2 separate regions of the Homo sapiens genome follow, and region 1 is linked to region 2. The links are contacts of gene promoters, found by promoter capture Hi-C in human tissues and cell types (Jung and others, 2019). All regions are on one chromosome and are shown on one strand. Each heading gives the region's core, a stretch centred on a gene start or on the middle of the fragment in contact. The rest is flanking DNA. Distances are from core to core; before and after follow the strand shown.

What was found. Contacts are between HindIII fragments. The study calls those that stand out against the background at their distance.
Region 1: a fragment that was not itself captured here is called in contact with the fragment with the promoter of HEG1 in region 2 in 1 of the 25 tissues and cell types used here (aorta).

Annotation. Positions count from the first base shown.
Region 1 is chr3:125,477,966-125,482,078 of GRCh38, reverse strand. SNX4 (sorting nexin 4) reads left to right here. Exons shown (of 14, transcript NM_003794.4): 7 at 1,760-1,832. Among named protein-coding and RNA genes, the nearest start is that of SNX4, 40 kb to the left of the region's middle. The HindIII fragment of the contact is 3,256 bases long and covers 1,149-4,113 here.
Region 2 is chr3:125,053,652-125,057,627 of GRCh38, reverse strand. HEG1 (heart development protein with EGF like domains 1) reads left to right here and starts at 1,631. Exons shown (of 17, transcript NM_020733.2): 1 at 1,631-2,053. The coding sequence starts at 1,738. RefSeq lists an enhancer at 1,068-1,117 and silencers at 1,368-1,747, 1,828-1,917, 1,978-2,137. The HindIII fragment of the contact is 8,893 bases long and covers 1-3,973 here.

The DNA.
Region 1 (4,113 bases), core at 1,527-4,026, 420 kb before region 2:
AGCCAGCACTTTAAGGATGTTTTCAAAGTATAACTACCTGAGGTCAGCTGGGCATGGTGATGCCCATATGTAGTCTCAGCTGTTTGGGAGGCTGAGGCAGGTGGATCAAGGGCTGCAGTGAGCTAGGATCAAGCCACTGCATTCCAACCTGGGTGACACAGTACTGGGCCTTTAAAAAAAAAAGAAGGAAAGAAAAATAAAGTATAACCTGAGGACTACCAGCATGTGAATCCTGTGGATGAGCTATAAAATTCAGATTCAGATTCCTGAGTCCCACGAGGACCTTGATGTATTCACATCCCTCTGAGAGACCATCAGTAGTGTTTTTAAGAAACATTTCGACCAGGCATGGTGGCTCACGCTTGTAATCCCAGCACTTTGGGAGGCCAAGGCAGGCGATCACCTGAGGTTGGGAGTTCAAGACCAGCCTGACCAACATGGAGAAACCCTGTCTCTACTAAAGAGAGACGGGTGTGGTGGTACATGCCTATAATCCCAGATACTCGGGAGGCTAAGGCGGGAAAACTGCTTGAACTCGGGAGGCGGAGGTTGTGGTGAGCCAAGATTGCGCCATTGCACTCCAGTCTGGGCAACAAGAGTGAAACTCTGTCTCAAAAAAAAAAAAAAAAAAGATTTCAGGAATTTTTTGCAGACTACAGTTGGAGATATAAGAGATGGGTGAAGGAAGTGAGTACTACAAAAGAAGCTTCAGGAGTGACCAGAGAGTGAAATGAAAGCCATGAGAAAATAATACTGACAAGGAAACAGATTTTTGAGGAGGAGGATGATGTCAGCTGTTGCATTGCCAAAAGGATCAAGTAAGAGGAGAACTAAGATTGATCACTGGATATTACAACATGAAAATAGTTGGTGACTTTGTCAGGAATATTTCCCTACTATATAGTGCTGGAGGCAGAAGCTAGATTCTCATAGGCTGTGCAGTATATGGGAATGGAAGAAGTGGTTATTGCTGGGGAAGTGATGCCTTGTGAAAGCTTGGCTATAAAAGGGGTGGATATTGACAGGGTGTTAATAGCTGGGTGTGTTGTCAAGGGAGTGTGTATTTTAATCTATGAGAGACCTGAGTTAATTGATATGCTGATGAGAAGAAGTTTATAGAGATAGGAAGTCAGGAAACAGGAATATGGGGTGTAGCTGGAATGGAATCTAGAGCGTTAGATGGGAAGAAATCCTAGTGGGAGGGAAAAAATGATGTAGATATGGGGAAGTGTGTAAGTTGATTGGCAGGAGGTAGAGGTGGGAGTCGTTCCCATCTGATGGTTTTTGTTTATCTGTGAAGCTTGGTTGTTTGGAGAATGACAGATGGTGCATCAGAAGTTTTTGGTCCTTATGGAAAATGGCAGTTAATAGATGAGGGAAGCAAATTACTTGAGCAGAATTAAGATTGAGGTTAGAGACCATGAGTTTATGATTGCACCATAATGTATCTTTTAGCTCCTTAAAGTTTTTCCTGTTTTGTATTTTCAAAGTAGTTTTTCATACCAACAGATTTTTTTTACCTATCTCAGTTCCACGAGGTAAATTATGAAGTGTGATATCTTGACTTTCAAAATATCAACAGAAAATATCATTTTATTTTAGAGTTTTTTGGATTTATATTGGTGTGTAAATGTTTAAGGCCAGCATATGGTTAAATAGAATCAGTTTTGTTATTGTCGGGAACTACTGTTTTTTTCTTTCAGTTTTTGACTGCTTGTTTTCATTTGAAAAACGATGTTTTATTTGTTTCCTGTTTCAGGAGATTTACTGACCTTAAGCACTATAGTGATGAACTGCAGTCTGTCATCTCACATCTTCTTCGAGTCAGAGCTGTAAGTGGTCCCCAAAAGCTTTTTGATGCACATGCATAAGGAAGTGCTTCTCATGTAATCATTCTGTTTTCAAGTAGTAGGTGGTATTTACCATGAATAACTGATTTTTGCATTTGAATTTATATGTTCATCATCCAAACTGCACTTTTTAAAAAAATGTGCAATGGTTTCTGTCATAAACAACTCACTTAGCCTGTTTTCTCTCCATGGTTTGTAATAGAATAGTTGTTTTGGATGTTATCAAAAGGCCTGCCATTTCAGTGCTGGAATGTAAATAAGTGTAGGATTTTAGATCTACACATCATATTCTTTCATGTTTTTTTTAAAGGTCCGTGAAATAGTTTATAGGTGTTAGGCCATCCTGTGTCTGTGCTCTTAAATTCTACCAAATAAACTAATTTCAGATAATAGTCTGCCATGACAAAAGGGACTAGAAATCAAGGAATAATAATTATACTTAACCATATAGTTCAGCTGTAATAGGCAAAGAGGGAAATACTTCTCAGTAAATTAATGTACCTGGAAAATGTACCATCCGCTCTGGTCTCTTGTGGCAACCTAGAAGGAACCTTAGAACATGCCTGTGCCAAAGGCATTGAAAGAGACTAGGATACCAGGTAAGGTCACATTTTATGCTGATTGGAATCTGGAATCCTCTTTGTTGTTATTATTATTATTATTATTATTATTTTGAGATGGAGTCTCGCTCTGTCACCCAGGCTGGAGTGCAGTGGCACAATCTCAGCTCACTGCAACCTCCACCTCCCGGGTTCAAGCAGTTCTCCTGCCTCAGCCTCCTGAGTAGCTGGGATTACAGGCATGCAGCACCATGCCTGGCTAATCTTTATTTTTAGTAGAGATGGGGTTTCACCATGTTAACGAGGCTGGTCTCGAACTCCTCCTGGCCCCAAGTGATCTGCCCACCTCAGCCTCCCAAAGAGCTGGGATTATAGTCATGAGTCACCATGCCTGGCCAGAATCCTCTTGAAATGAAATATATTGCCTGGAATTTGTTTTAATAAGAGTCCACCGATGAGCAGTGGAGAGTGGGGGCAGTTTTAGGAGAAATGAGTTTGGCTATATAGTAATTACTGAAGCTGGGTGTTGAGAAATGGAGGTATATCCTTCTGTTCTATATGCTTTTTGTATGTTTCAAGATTTCCATGACAGTACAGAAAAAATACAATAAAGGAAAAAATTCTTCTGAAGGTCTTATATTGTCTTGATCTCCCGTTTAACTGTTCAAGAGTATCGTTGGACTCTTTGAATAAATTATAAGATACCTTCTCATAAAAGTTACCTGCGAGAATTATTAGGCTAGAGTCAAGAACTGGGTATTAGAAAGGACTGTGGATTAATGAGATAAAATTTGTGGACCTTTGGTTGCCTAGAAATTACCCAGACAAATTAGGCAATAGTTCTCGTGGGAGGTGCAGATGGGGGACAAACATTCAGAGAGTCTGCATCGTACCCTCACATTGCTTCTAGTTTTTTTTTTTTCTTAAGTGGTTTTTCAGCAACTTCTCTTTTCTTCCATGCTTAATATCTTAGTAGAGGATGAATGCTCAGCTTTTAGGAAGGAGGTTTGGTATCTAAAAGTACAGGGATCTAGAAAAGTTAGTGTTAGAATGACATTTTCCATCATATATTCTCTGGAATGCTAACCCTGTAAGATGTTCCCTACTGCAAACCGTATCTCCCTTGAGCAGTCATGATTCATATGTGGTGTTAAAGGTCTAAAAGGTCCTACAGAAAAAAAACTGTTAAATTTTATTGTCTCAGTGTTTCCCAACCTTACTTGATGATGGAACCACTTAAAAAAAAAAAAGAAAAGAAAAACATTCAACACTGCACAGACTGCTCAAAAAATACTTGGGGGCCAGGCACAGTGGCTCGTACCTGTAATCCCAGCACTTTGGGAGGCCAAGGTGGGCAGATCATTTGAGGTCAGGAGTTTGAGACCAGCCTGACCAGCATGGTCTTTACTAAAAATACAAAAACTAGCTGGGCGTGGTGGTGCATGCCTGTAATCCCCACTACTCGGGAGGCTGAGGTGGGATAATCGCTTGAACCCAAGAGGCAGAGATTGCAGTGAGCTGAGATCGTGCCACTGTACTTTAGCCTGGGAGACAGAGTGAGACTCCGTCTCAAAATAATAATAATAATAATAATAGTAATAATAATAAGAAGAAGAAGAAGGAGGAGGAGGAAATGACATCCTAGAGAAATTAGTTTAGAGGTCTGGGGACAACCTGTAAGAGTTTCAAGTAGGAGTAGGACT
Region 2 (3,976 bases), core at 382-2,881:
TGTGCAGTCCTGCCTGTTAATGTGAGAGCAGCATCCAGAGAAGTTAAGCTCAGGCCATGGGAGCAAACCAAGTCAGTTTCAGGGAGATTACTGTTTGGTACTTTCTTGGAGAGACCTGGAAGTTCTGTGTTAGAGCCCTGGAAAGCTGGTTTGTTTAAAAACAAAACAAAATAAAACCAAATCTTTACTCCTCATTCTCTCATTTAAGGTGAGTTTGTTTATACACAGCCTCCTTTATGTTTTTCTGCCAAATGACTCACTTGTACTGAGTCACCAGAAAGTGGGCCTAGGCCCATCTGCAGCTGCCCTGGACACTACGATCTCATTCTCCTGGAGGTGGGTCATGGAGATCTGGAGACAGAGAAAAAGAGAAGAGCAGAGAAATAGGATGGAGAGCCAGGCCTGACAGTGAGGTGCATACTCATATTTTCACGAGCATTTGGTTGTCAGACAGGGGCCCCCAACAGAACTCGCAAGAACCCCAAGGAGCTGCAACATTTGTTTCTGTTGCAATACTATTTGTTTCCGTTTGCGAATTATTGCAAACTCTGAATTAGGAGACCAGAATTAATAATATCACATGGTCATTCACAGATCAATCATTTCGTCTTCGGGTCTACCTTCAGAATCTTGAGCAAGTTATTTTCCCATTTGAGCCCCTCTTTCTTCACTTAATGAGGTGGCTTACAGTCCTAAACTTTAGACAGTTTATTATTCATTTACTGGGGAGGGAGAGGTTATGGAAACAAATGGAACTTTATTGACCAAGAAAATTTGTTTACATGAAATCTTTGAATCTTTCCCCATAGGTTTCCATTTAAAATTCTGTGTTCTCTGGGCATCATTTGGTTTAATTTGCGATCTGCAGTTCTTTTCCTGATGATGAGTTTGCCCTAGCCTGCCTGAATTCACAGTTTTCTTTTCCCTGCAGCCTGTTTGGGTGTCCTCGCGGTGACATCTCTGCAGAACTCTGGTGTGAGCCAAAGGCAGTGGTCGGATGGGAACGGCATCCAAGCTTGAGAGGGCGTGGGGGATACTCGGATTCTCGCGTTGGCCGGAGGGTGAGGTGTTAGGTTTGGCAAACACGAGCTCATCACCAGCCCTGGGGCCTGAAGAAGGGGAGGTGGGGGTGGGAGTGGGGACACTTCAAATCAATAACGGCGGTGACAGCGCGGGCTGGGTACCAGGGGACCGTTCCCTTTCTCTCTCCTATCAAAGCACTTGGGATAATCTAGTCTGGTGCTAATCACATTACCCAGGACCTGCTTTTCACCTACTTCTTGTGCGTTTAAGGAGTTGGGTAGGTGGTGCCCGATTCAGAAGACTCTGGAGCATGTGTGTGACAAAAGTTGCAGCACCGTGGCTCCGCTGACCTCATCCCGCTGTCCCGGGCCGGGCCGCTCTCCAGGCGCCCGGCCCCAGCCCCCTTCCTGCCCTCTCCCCGCCTCCGGGCCCGCCGCGCGGGGCCGGTGATGTCAACTGAGGAGGAGCCGCCCGCCAGCCAGCGACCCGCCCGGGCTAATTAGCATGTAGCGGCGCCGCGGGCCGCCTCCGCCCAGCCAGCCCGGCCCCCGGCAGCCCTCCCGCGGCTCCCGATAACTTTTGAGGCGGGGAGCGCGCTCGCAGCCTCACTCCGCTCACTTCCCCGGCCCCGCGCGGCCCCCGCCGCCCGCTGCCCGCTGCCCGCTGCCCTCGCCCCGCGCGCCGGGCATGTGAGCGCGGGCGGGCGCCGTCACCATGGCCTCGCCGCGCGCCTCGCGGTGGCCGCCGCCGCTCCTGCTGCTGTTGCTGCCGCTGCTGCTGCTGCCGCCGGCGGCCCCCGGGACGCGGGACCCGCCGCCTTCCCCGGCTCGCCGCGCGCTGAGCCTGGCGCCCCTCGCGGGAGCGGGGCTGGAGCTGCAGCTGGAGCGCCGCCCGGAGCGCGAGCCGCCGCCCACGCCGCCCCGGGAGCGCCGCGGGCCCGCGACCCCCGGCCCCAGCTACAGGGCCCCTGAGCCAGGCGCCGCGACACAGCGGGGACCCTCCGGCCGGGCCCCCAGAGGCGGGAGCGCGGGTGAGTGAGAGCCGGGAACCTGGCGCCTGGCCAGTCTGTGCTGGGGGCGTGGGCGCGCCCCGGGCTGCATCCCCAGCCGTAGGCCCCTCCGCGCGGCGCGACCCAGGGTGGGGGCTCCTCGCCCGGCGTGTGCGGGACCCTGAGGGTCGGCGGGTAGGGAGGGACGCTTTCGCAGTTGGCTGGACTGAGGGGTGTGACTATCCCGTTCTCCTCCAACCCTTTGGAAGAAAACTTATTTCCTATGGGGTACCCTGTATCTCTTCCACCCCACTTTAAAAAAAATGGAAAGGAAAGGGAAAAAGACTGCAAAGCATCTCTCCCACCTCCGATATCTGGCCAGCCGGTCCCCAGTTTCATTTTTTCCGCTATACAGAACTGGCCTCTCCAGGTACAGGGCTCGACTTTCTCATCTAAATAACTGATTTTTAAGGGGTTCTAGGACGGGATATTGTAAAGGACAAAGGATGTACGTAGTTTGAAACAAAACGCTCTACTGGTTCGACTTAAAAGCAAAGGAACGCGGTTGGGGTTGCATGGTTGAACCCCTGCAAGGCACAGGCTGATACAGGACCATCCCTGAGCCTCCTCCCTCCCCTTTCCTTTCCCAATGAACTGTTGCTCCGTGGTAGCCACCGCCTGTCCCACGCAGAGAGAAGGAACTGACCTCTTCTCCCTGCTACCTTTGTGTCCAGTTCTTTCTTATGATCTGGAAAAATATGCCACATACTGAGTGGAATTCTAACCATAATACCATTATGACCTTGGGACTGCTGTCTCTTTGCGCTCACTTTCTCCATCTGTGAAATGAAAGTGATGATCCCTGTTCCTTCTAGCCTCCTAGTGATGATGTGACAAAATGAAAGTAAAAATAAATGGAAAGTGCTTTGAACAAAGTCAGCAACGTGGTGGTGTTAGCCTTTGCCTTCCTGTGAGTGACACAGGGCATATGCTCTGTCCGGGCTATTCAAATAAGCTGGGTTGCTTGCAACACTGGACATTGATTTGGAGTTTCCCTGAAAGTTGAGTTTTTTGTCTGCATAATTGACAATTCATTTAAGTTTCTCATCTCATGCAGACTTTCTGGCACGTGAATTAGCTTGCTTCCTCCAACCTAGAGGTGCTTCTTAGAGTTAAATAAGAAAAAGTTTGGATTTTTAAAAATCAAGTTCTCCTGTAAAAACTCAATTTCATATTCAACAGTATTCCCATTATCGCAAAATGCCTTATTTTGTGAATTTTTAAATCACTGGCATAAGATTGAGAAACCGAGGAACAGTAAGAAAAGGGAGAGGAGAGATAAGCTTCTGAAGACGTGTAGGAGACACATCCCGGAGTGACTGTGACTTTAGATTACTTACAGCATACGCTGTTTTGCTAACTTCCACGGGAAGGAATCAAGAACATAAAACAACATATTTCCCGACTTTCTCCAACTAGGAAAGTAACTGAGGAACACTGTGTAGTATTTTGTGAGTTTTTCTAAACAGAAGGTGAACTGCAGAGAACTGAGAACATTTCAGAGGAGACACCCAAGAGCCGAAGGCAGATTTCTCTGGGTAGTAGTCAGGCTGTCTTAGCTGAATGGCCTCCATCTTGTTAGGGGATAGGTGGGAGGGACACTGACTTGCAGGGGCCCTGGCTGGATGGGGCAGGCACATGAGTCTCTTTCCTTCTCTTAGGGGCGGGATCTCTAGAGAGAGGTAGGTATTACAGGTATTACAGAGAGGTAGGGACAGTGGAGGCAGCTAGCTTAGAGGACTCAGCTGGTAAGAATTGGGGCCTTATGTGACCCAAACATCCCTCACAGGTGTGGCAGGTAACACTGCTGGTCTTGGTTTTGTGGCTTTCCCAGTTTGATTCCTTTGCAGAGGTGAGTGATGGAGGCTTCAGGTATATGAGGTACTGGAAGGAATACATGTGAGA